Regions from separate parts of the Homo sapiens genome. Here regions 1, 3 and 4 are each linked to region 2. Evidence: promoter capture Hi-C in human tissues and cell types (Jung and others, 2019). All regions are on one chromosome and are shown on one strand. The core of a region is centred on a gene start or on the middle of the fragment in contact, and the rest is flanking DNA. Distances in the headings are between cores, read along the strand shown.

Evidence for each region. Contacts are between HindIII fragments. The study calls those that stand out against the background at their distance.
Region 1: a contact is called between a fragment that was not itself captured here and the fragment with the promoter of EEF2K in region 2, in 1 of the 25 tissues and cell types used here (H1 embryonic stem cells).
Region 3: a contact is called between a fragment that was not itself captured here and the fragment with the promoter of EEF2K in region 2, in 2 of the 25 tissues and cell types used here (lymphoblastoid cells and mesendoderm cells).
Region 4: a fragment that was not itself captured here is called in contact with the fragment with the promoter of EEF2K in region 2 in 1 of the 25 tissues and cell types used here (spleen).

Annotation. Positions count from the first base shown.
Region 1 is chr16:21,280,615-21,283,314 of GRCh38, reverse strand. It overlaps a transcript of CRYM not described here. Among named protein-coding and RNA genes, the nearest start is that of CRYM, 3.7 kb to the right of the region's middle. The HindIII fragment of the contact is 6,987 bases long and covers 1-2,700 here.
Region 2 is chr16:22,204,909-22,207,608 of GRCh38, reverse strand. EEF2K (eukaryotic elongation factor 2 kinase) reads right to left here and starts at 1,331. Exons shown (of 18, transcript NM_013302.5): 1 at 930-1,331. RefSeq lists silencers at 831-1,100, 1,261-1,560. The HindIII fragment of the contact is 13,900 bases long and covers 1-2,700 here.
Region 3 is chr16:21,340,483-21,343,182 of GRCh38, reverse strand. No RefSeq gene overlaps it. Among named protein-coding and RNA genes, the nearest start is that of CRYM, 64 kb to the right of the region's middle. The HindIII fragment of the contact is 4,162 bases long and covers 1-2,700 here.
Region 4 is chr16:21,590,662-21,593,361 of GRCh38, reverse strand. The region is part of intron 2 of LOC101927814 (a long non-coding RNA gene); the gene reads left to right. Among named protein-coding and RNA genes, the nearest start is that of METTL9, 7.6 kb to the left of the region's middle. The HindIII fragment of the contact is 6,124 bases long and covers 1-2,700 here.

The DNA of each region.
Region 1 (2,700 bases), core at 168-2,667, 920 kb after region 2:
TTTTAAATATTGCATTTAGATGTTTTAGTTTAATATTTATCATGACTACTGAGTGAATCCCGTACATTTTGTGCCATAGGTGAGTACCTCACTATGGTACAGCTCTACCCTGCTGCCATCTTCACTGTGGTAGTGGCAGAAGTCTAGGGGGATGTAAGTAACCACCTCCTCCGCAGGGTCTGTTAGGGGTTAGCAGGGAACTTCCAGAGGCTCAGGCACAGGAGCTTACATGGCCCCCAGGCTTGTCCCAGGACAAGGTCTCAGGGAAGGGCGGGGAAAAGAGATTTACACCAGCTTTCTCAATACTGACCCCTGCATTACTAAAAAGTTTATTAATCTTCTTTCTGTTAAGTCATAATTATAATAATAATTTCATTATTTTAATAATAATAAAATAAACCTCAATAACACCTAATATTTAATATGCTACTTATTAATAATACTTATTATTGGAGGCTTGGGACAATTAGTTCTCTGTGCCTCTGGTCTCAAAAGAAGTGATGCAACCAAGACTAGTTTTCTCAGTGCTACTTTACTGAGGACCTGGGTGATGTGAACCAAAGCTTTATCAGGAAGATGATTTGAGATGATTTGCAGAGTTGTCCTGTTTCTACAGGATTCACTGGAGTGAATTCCTATTATTGAGGTTTCTTATTTTGTCATTGTTAAAATAATGAAATTACTATTATAATCATGACTTAAAGAAGATTAATAAACTTTCTAGTAATGTGGGAGTCAGAAATAAGATTTCTATTTAATCGGGGCTAAATTCCTGAATTTACTATGGAAGCAAATAAATATCTGGCTTTCTTATTTCATATCTCTTTTAGTTGATGAGTATTTGGTTTTGCTTTTTTTCTCCTTGTTAACTTTAAAAAAAAAACCACACAATTTATAAATTTAGACAAGAAGAGACTTTCTTATACGAGGTTACAGCCTGCAAGGTGGGATCCTATGCTGGGAAGCACGCTGTATTATTCCGTTTTCATGCTGTCTATAAACACATGCCTGAGACTGGGCAATTTACAGAAGAAAGAGGCTTATTGGATTTACAGTTCCACATGGCTGGGGAGGCCTCACAATCATAGTGGAAGGCAAGGAGGAACAAGTCACATCTTACATGGAGGGCAATAGCAAAGAGAGAGCTTGTGCAGGGCAACTCCCATTTTTAAAACCATCAGATCTCGTGAGACTCATTCACTATCATCAGAACCGCAGGGGAAAGACCCGCCTCCATGATTCAGTCATCTCCCACTGGGTCCCTCCCACAAGATGTGGGAATTATGGGAGCTATAAGAAGAGATTTGGGTGTGGACATGGAGCCAAACCATATCACATGCCTTGGCCAAGATCAGAGACAGGCACTTTGAAGGAGGAGGGTTGGGGTAGGAGCTTTATGCTCAACAGGTTGGCTAAATATACATATTCAACAGGTGAGAGAAGAAGCTATGAATATTCATGAAAGTGGTCCTGATGCATGTGTATTTAACAAACATGCATGTTACATACAACTCATGTTCATTTTGGGGTGGTTGCAGCATTTAAATGTATTACAATTCAGCCTGATACGTCAAAAGGTCTTTTCAGGACATGAAGGCATGCAAGTGTGCAACCTCTGTAAGTCAGCCAGAACCATCCTATAGTCGGTAGTCTTATCAGGAGAAAGTTACTGAAATCAGTCTCTTGTCCAATCAAGCTGTAGTTATGGCTGGTGGAACAAGGGGTCGGTTAGTCAATATCTGTGATTTGGATGAGTTGTAATTGTTTTAATATTGCATATCTTCAGCCGGGCACGGTGGCTCATGCCTGTAATCCCAGCACTTTGGGAGGCCAAGGCGGGTGGATCATCTCAGGTCAGGAGTTCGAGACCGAGACCAGCCTGGCCAACATGACAAAACCCCATCTCTACTGAAAGTACAAAAATTAGCCGGGGGTGGTGGCATGCACCTGTAATCCCAGCTACCTGAGAGGCTGAGGCAGGAGAATCACTTGAGATCATGCCACTGCACTCCAGTCTGGGTGACAGAGAGGGACTTTGTTTCAAAAAAAAAATTTATATATATATATATGCACATATATACATATCTATATAGATACATAGATACATATACATATCTATATAGATACATAGATACGTATATATGTATATACATATATGTTTGTGTATATATATATATACAGAGAGAGAGAGAGAGAGAGAGAGAGTGAGAGAGAGAGAGAATCACTCTGTTGTCCAGGCTGGAGTGCAGTGGCACGATCTCGGCTCACTGCAACCTCCACCTCCCTGGTTCAAGCAATTCTCCTGCCTCAGCCTCCTGAGTAGCTGGGATTACAGGCACATGCTACCACACCTGGCTAATTTTTGTACTTTTTGTAGAGATGGGGTTTCATCACGTTGGCCAGGCTGGTCTCAAACTCCTGACCTCACATGATCCGCCCGCCTTGGCCTCCCAAAGTGCTGGGATTACAGGTGTGAGCCACTGTGCCCAAGCCATGTTCCCTATCTTCTCTGAGCAGGGCTGGGGAAAACAAAAACAAAAATATTGCTTATCTTCAAGCCAGTGCTTGTTTAGCTGCTGGAGAAAACAAAAACTCTGTGGCAGTTAGAACATAGCTTTTTTCTTTAAGTGTAAGGGTGCGTGACTTAACCCTTCCTGGCATGGCCTTAGATCCTGTTTATAATTTGTTATCGTATTGCCA
Region 2 (2,700 bases), core at 82-2,581:
CTCCCGGGGCCATAGACTATGACACTGTGTGCCAGGCACTGTTCCAAGCACCTGACATATACATACTCATCTACTCTTTCCAAGGATACTAAGTGGTAGATACTAATACTGTACCCATTTTACCGATGAGAAAACCGAGGGCCAGAGAGCATAAATGAGCTAGAATTCCAACCCAGGACTCCAGCCCTAGTGTTTCCTGCTTTCCTGGCTGAAGAAGCACCCACCACCGAGGTCCCAGAGGTCGGGCTCCCTGGGACCGTCCCCCTGGGCAGATCTCACTTCCCCATGCGGCCCATCTGTCACACTCAGGGCGCAGCTGGGCTGGTTCCCCGAAATCCCCCAGGCGCGCGCAAAAGGATCTAGGCCGGGGCTTACCCGGGAGGCCCCCACCCCCGCGCGGCCACCGGCTTATTAATGCCCAGCCCCTTGGCACACATGTCAGCAGCGCCTGCCAACAAACTCCCGCAGCCAACAATGCAGCAAGGGCGCGTCTATACAGTCCTGGAGGTTCCGGGAATTCGGGCTGACGCAGGCCTCTAGTTCAGGGGAAAGGTGGGGGATGCGGCTCTGAGCCCTGCAGGGGACAGGAAGGCAGCGATGCGCCCACACTCTAGGGGCCCCGAGGGGGGAGGCCCCCAAACTCTCTGTCACTTGCAGCCAGATCACCGCCCATTGCTTGCCAATTGCTTTCCATATCCACATCGCCTTTAATCCGCACAACTTCCCCATTTCTCCAAAGCAAGCACTTAGCCCCAGAGAGTTTAACAACCAGAGGAGAAGCGCCCCCACACTCTCCTTCCATGCCTTCTCCGGCCCCATTCCCAAGCCCAGACCCAGCACGCTCCAGACGCCAGCTGCACCCGGGCGCACAGGCCTGCAGCGCGGGCTCCCAGCCCCCCACAGCCTTGCCGGCCGCGGTCCACACCTACCTCCCTCGGGCAGACAGGCGCGGCAGCCGCTGCCCACGGCCGCGAGGGTCCAGAGGAGTTGGCAGAGGCTCGCGGCCCGGAGCTCCAGGGTGCAGGGCGGGCGGGCCCCCCGAGAGTGCCGGGGAGCGGAGAGCGGGGAGCGCTAGCTGGCGCTCCGGGCAAGCAGCTGGGGCCACGCGGGGTAGATGGACCGATCCCAGGGCGCGCGGGGCAGTCGGAGTGATCCCAGGAAGGGCGCAGGGGCCGTTGGGACGATCCCGGGATGTGGGAGCGCGTGCCAGGGGGGACTCGCGTGCAGGCGACAGCGAGCGGGACTCGGGTGGCTGCAGGGCCGGGAGTGCGGGCGCTCGATCCAGGAAGGAGGGGAGCTGAGGCTGAAGCTGGGGCTGGTCTAGGTTGAGCAGAAGCGGGCGGGCAGGGGCGGGGCTGGCCTGGCGGGCGCACGGCGTGGCGCTCACGTGGCCGCCCCCAGGTGGCCATCACAGCGCCTGCAGCCGCCTAGCGGGCCTCCTGGCTCCGGCGCTGGCTCCCAGCCCCAGGTGCAATGGTTAGCGCTAAGTCTTGGCTCCCCCTGCTGAGTACACAGTGTCCGGTTCTCCTGCTCAAGGCTGGCCTAGCATCCGGCAGCGAGGGGGCAATTCGAGGGAGTGACCAACTTCCGTCCTCTCCCGCCGCGCCTCGCCATTCTCGCCTGCTTCTCGCTTAGTTCCTGTATTCCTGTCCTTTCCAAAATCATTAGTGATCCAAGCCCATCGCTTGTTTGTATGTATCTCTATCCATAACCTTAAAATATTTTTTATCGGAAATACTTTGTTTTTCCTGATTTCTGCTTTGTAAAAACAGGCACGTATGACGATTGCAATTATTTGTGTAGTTTTAAAATTAGTATCTCCTTTAGTTATTCCTAACTCTTGACACAGGGCCTGGGTGGCACACAGTAGATGCTTAATAAATACCTGTGGCATGAGTGGTAGAGTGGCTAAGGTATAAAAAAGAAAACGAATTAAAACTAATAGCTACTGTGAACACTTTAATATTAGGTCCTTCCAGATACTTTGTTAGTGAAATTTTAGAAATTTCACACATTCTAGATAGAAAAGTAGTAACAATGACATGTTTTGAGGGATTTCTCTCATTCCATCTTCCCAGCACTTTGGGAGGCCGAGGCCGGCAGATCACCTGAGGTCAGGAGTTCGAGACCAGCCTGGCCAAAACGGTAAAACCCTGTCTTTAGTAAAAATACAAAAAAGCAGCCGGGCGCGCCTGTAGTCCCAGCTACTCTGGAGGCTGAGGCACGAGAATCGCTTGAACCCTGGAGGCAGAGGTTGCAGTGAGCCGAGATCGCGCCACTACACTCCAGCCTGGGTGAAGGAATGAGACTCCGTCGCAAAAAAACAAAAACAAAAAAATAAAAAAGAAAAAAGAACAAAACTGAGGCTTATAGAGATAATGACATGCCCCAGGTGAGGCAGCTAGAAAAGGCAGAGCCAGCAGTAAATCCAGACTTCTCTGATTTCAAAGTTCAGGCTCTCCAAAGAACTTTTTTCCTTATTTATAAACCCCAAAGAGAGTAAACTCCAGCTTTTGGCAAGACAAAATTGCACCTGGAATTCTGACCCTGGGGCCGTCAGGCAGGAAGGGAAGATCAAAGATGCTGAACTAGTCTGTCCAAGCCCAAAGCAAGATTGGAAAAAAAAAAAAGACGCTACTGCTTAAAGCTCTATGGCCCTTGGGCAAGTTATTTTACTTCTCTGAGCCTCTGTCATTTTTG
Region 3 (2,700 bases), core at 70-2,569, 860 kb after region 2:
ACTGCAACCTCTACCTCCTGGATTCAAGCAATTCTCCTGCCTCAGCCTCCCAAGTAGCTGGGATTAGAGGCATGTGCCACCACACCTGGCTAAGTTTTGTATTTTTAGTAGAGACGGGGTTTCACCATGTTGTCCAGGCTGATCTCGAACTGCTGACCTCAGGTGATCAGTTTGCCTCAGCCTCCCAAAGTGCTGGGATTACAGGCATGAGCCACCACGCCTGGGCTCCCTGACTTTTAAACAACATTTTTTACAACTATAAAATTAATGCAGTGCTTATTGGAAATAACTGAGAAACTACAATAAAAGACAAAGGGAAAAATAAAAATTATCCTACTACCTAGAGATAGGCACTGTAAAAATGATCACACATAAATTTTTAATCAACTTCCACATATACCTATATATTTGCAATAAAAATGGTATCATGCCATAAGTATAGTCCTCACATCGCTCTCTGCTGCCCAGCTATGAATATTCAAGAGCAGAAGTCAAGTCATGAGCAATATTCCTACAGCCACATTTCAATAGCCACAGGTTACGCTGCTACATGGTATTTCAGTGAATGCCCCTAACCCACACCCTAGGACTGCTACCTCTCTCAAGTCCCAAGGCAGAATTCCTCATTGTAGTAGAAAGGCCACTGTACTCCAGCCTCAGCAACATAGCAAGACTCTGTCTCAAAAAAAAAAAAAAAAAAAAAAAATTAGGAGATATTAGAAATTGCCAGATTAGCAAAAGCTAAGAAAATTTGCTAATACACCTGCCCTATAATATAGTTCTTTCAGCTGAATGAAAGGACATTAGATGGTAACATGAAGTCACATGAAAAAATAAAGAGCTCCAGTGAAGGTAACTACATAGGCAGATATAAAAGCCAGTGTTATGATAATGGTTTCTTTTTCCTTCTATATGATTTAAAAGATAAATGCATAAAATAATGATAAACATGTTAATAGGCACACAATATAAAGATGTAATTTGCAAAAATACCAACACAAAGAGGGGCTGAAGCTTGACAGAAGAGCTTTTGTATAGTATTAAAGCTAAATTGTTATTAACCCAAATTAAATTGTTTAAGATACTAATTGTAAAATCCAAATTATCCCCTCAGAGAAGAACTAGAAAATATACAGAAAAGGAAATTAGATGGGACTCAAAATGGAAGCTATGAGAGAAAAAAGATATGACATATATAAAACAAATACCAAAACGGCAGATGTCAGTTCTGTATTTTTTTTTTTTTTTTTGAGATGGAGTCTCGCTCTGTCACCCAGGTTGGAATGCAGTGGCACGATCTTGGCTCACTGCAACCTCTGCCTCCCAGGTTCAAGCAGTTCTTCTGCCTCAGCCTCCTGAATAGCTGGGATTTCAGGCACGTATCACCACGCCCAGCTAATTTTTGTATTTTTAGTAAAGACAGGGTTTCACCATGTTGGTCAGGCTGGTCTCGAACTCCTGACCTTGTGATGTGTCTGCCTCAGCCTCCCAAACTGCTGGGATTACAGGTGTGAGCCACCACGCCCGGCCAATGTTCTGTATTATTATCTTCAATAAAAGGCAAGGGTGGCAGAATGGATTTTTTAAAAATGATTCAAATATACAAACTGGTTGAAAGTGAAAGGATGGAAAAAGATACTCCATGAAAATAACAAAAAGAGATCAGGGTGGTTATATGAATATCAGACAAAATAGACTTTAAGTAAAAATATTGTCAGAAAATTTCAATAACTATAAAAAATCAGAATGCGCTAACAGTTACAGAAGAGGAGACACACATGACTCATATTAGTAACACACAGCTTCATTAACAATTGGGAAATGTAGATTTAAATTGCTATGCGATAACATTTCATATCCCTAATTTGGCACAATTAAAAGCTTGGCAATTCTAAATATTGGCAAGAATATGGAGCATGAGGAATTCTCATCTCCTTCTAGTGAGGCTGTAAATTCATAAAACACTTTGCATGTGAGCCCTCAATGGGAAAAGAAATGATTTTTCTTGGTCTTTGTATATTAGACATGGTACAAGTTCAGATATCCACATTTTTCTTTTTTTTTTTTTTGAGACGGACTCTTACTCTGTTGCCCAGGCTGGAGTGCAGTGGCACGATCTCGGGTCACTGCAACCTCCACCTCCCAGGTTCAGGTGACTCTCCTGCCTCAGCCTCCTGAGTAACTGGGATTACAGGTGCCCACCACCACACATGGCTAATTTTTGTATTTTCAATAGAGACGGAGTTTCACCATGCTGGCCAGGTTGGTATCGAAGTCCTGACCTCAAGTGATCCACCCACCTCAGCCTCCCAAAGTGCTGGGATTACAAGTGTGAGCCACCATGCCCAGTCACAGATATCCAAAAATGTTAACAAATGAATGAATGTATAGCTGCATCCACTGACTTGACTTCCTATTCATTCCCATCTTCAAATCCTTCACAAACCTACCTTGATTGAAGCATAGCATTTCCAGGCCTATCTCAACCTGCAATATCTTTTTTTTTTTTTTTTTTTTTTTGATGTTGTCTCGCTCTGTCCCCCAGGCTGGAGTGCAGTGGCGTGATCTCGGCTCACTGCAAGCTCCGCCTCCCGGGTTCACGCCATTCTCCTGCCTCAGCCTCCCGAGTAGCTGGGACTACAGGCGCCCGCCACCATGCCTGGCTAATTTTTTTTGTATTTTTAGTAGAGACGAGGTTTC
Region 4 (2,700 bases), core at 66-2,565, 610 kb after region 2:
CTACAGGTATCCCCAATAATTGTGACAACAGAAATGGAGATAGTGCAGGACAGGCAAGTCCCAAAGTGGTGCTTAGCCCTCTGGGTTCTTGGCTTTATCAGGAAGGAATTCAAAGGCAAGCCAGAGGTAGAAGAAAACAGCTATATTGAAGAGGCTGTGTTACAGCTCCATGACTGCTCCTGCAGAGCAGGGCTACCCCATAGGGAGAGAGTAGCAGCTGAGGGTAGTTCAGTTCTGTAGCCATATTTATACCCACTTTTTTTTTTTTTTTTTTGAGATGGAGTCTCGCTCTGTCGCCAGGCTGGAGTGCAGTGGCACGATCTCAGCTCACTGCAACCTCCGCCTCCCAGGTTCAAGTGACTCTCCTGCCTCAGCCTCCTGAGTAGCTGGGACTACAGGCATGCGCCACCACATCCAACTAATTTTTCTATGTTGAGTAGAGACGGGGTTTCACCATGTTGGCCAGGCGGTCTCGAATTCCTGACCTCATGATCTGCCTGCCTCGACCTCCCAAAGTGCTGGGATTATAGGCGAGAGCCACTGTACCCAGCCTGTACTTGAAACTAAAAGTGGGAGGCTGGGCATGGTGGCTCATGCCTATAATCCCTGCACTTTGGAAGGTTGAGGTGGGTGGATCATGAGGTCAGATGTTCGAGACCAGCCTGGCCAACATGGTGAAACCCCATCTCTACTAAACATACAAAAAATAGCCAGGTGTGGTGGCAGGCGCCTGTAATCCCAGCTACACAGGAGGCTGAGGCAGGAGTCGCTTGAACCCGGGCGGCAGAGGTTGCAGTGAGCCGAGATCGCATGTCACTGCACTCCAGCCTGGGCAATGGAGCAGGACTCTGTCTCAAAAAATAAATAAATAAATAAATAATTGCATGTAGATTAAAGAGCTGTTTATGCAGAAATTTCTAGGGAATGGGCAGTAACTCCTAGGTCATTGGATCACTGCCATGGAAAGTGACAGTAACTGTCGAGTGTTGCCATGGCAGTGGTAAATCGACATGGCACACTGGTGAGCATGTCTGATTAAAACTACTTTCGCCCAGGCCCTGTTTTGGCTAGTTCTTAATCTGGTCCAGTGTCCACTCCAGTGTCCGAGCTCAACCTCTGGAGTAGAGTCCCACCTGCTACCTCCGACTGCTCATCAGAGCCTTCTAGAATGTGAGGAATCCCAGTGTCCCTCACATACACTCACAGAGTCCTGGAGAAAACGAAATGAGTTGTCTGGGCAGCTGTCAGCACAATCCCCTATATATATAGTCAGCTCTCAGATAGTAGCTGTGGTGGTTATTATGGAATCATAAGGCAGATGTAAACCTAGCTCTCCTTGGACAAGTTACTTAAGCAGTCCAAGAGATGAACAGCCATCTACTTTAAACTTAGTCTACTATAAGACAAATTAATTAGGGAGAGTCCTTCAACCTAAATCCTGGGCTCCACCAAATGAATCAGTTTCTCCAACAGAACTGTGTGAATTAGGCATTTTATTTTATTTAATTATTATTTTTTGAGACAGGGTCTCTGTTGCCCAGGCTGGAGTGCAGTTGCACAATCTCAGCTCACTGCAACCTCCGCCTCCTAGCTCAAGCGATCCTCCCACCTCAGCCCCCCAAGTAGCTGGGGCTACAGGCACACACCACCATGCCCGGCTAGTTTTTTATGTTATCTTATAGAGACACAGTTCGCCATGTTGCCCAGGCTGGTCTTGAACTCCTGGACTCAAGTGATCTGCCTGCCTCGACCTCCCAAAGTGCCAGGATTACAGGCATGAGCTACCATGCCTGGCCTCTAAATTAGGCATTTTAATACACATGTTTTGTACCACCTAAGTTGTGCTTTTTTTTTATTTTTATTTTTTCAAGATGGACTTTCACTCTTGTTACCCAGGCTGGAGTGCAATGGCGGGATCTCGGCTCACTGCAAGCTCCGCCTCCCGGGTTCAAGCGATTCTCCTGCCTCAGCCTCCTGAGTAGCTGGGATTACAGGCATGCGCCACCATGCCTGGCTGATTTTTTTTGTATTTTTAGTAGAGAGGCGGTTTCTCCATGTAGGTCAGGCTGGTCTCGAACTCCCAACCTCAGGTGATCCACCCCGCCTCAGCCTCCCAAAGTGCTGGGATTACAGGCGTGAGCCACCACGCCCAGCCCACTTCTGTATTTATACAGATCCTTCTGCCTGTGCTTCTGAATCCTTAAAAGACATCTTCACATACAGTATAAGCTACTTAAAGGAATATAAGTATTTTTAAATATATATTTCAACTAAATAATGTCCTTCCAATAACAGGTCTATGAGTCAGAGCTCTGACAAAAGACAGAAGGCTGTTGCTTTCATTCAGTTTCTAGGGCATTTTTGAAGGTCCAAATATCTTTCATCTAGTTTTAAATATCCTTTCGAAACAACCCTGTCCTTGGCCTCTTAATTGCTTTCTTTTGCATGTATGTGGGCTTGCTCTTCTAAATGACTGCTTCCTCTCCACCAAATTCACCGTGGGTATTTATTTTGAAATTATAAAGGCTTCTTATTTTATAAATATGAAACATTAAAACTTATGGTTTATATGAAATACATGGGGGAAGTGTCCTGTATTATGAGAAATCTTTTAAAACTTAAAATGTAAATTTTTTACGATAGACCAAATGTGTATATACATAAACATAAGTGATCTTAAAGTGTTTGTAAAACATACCA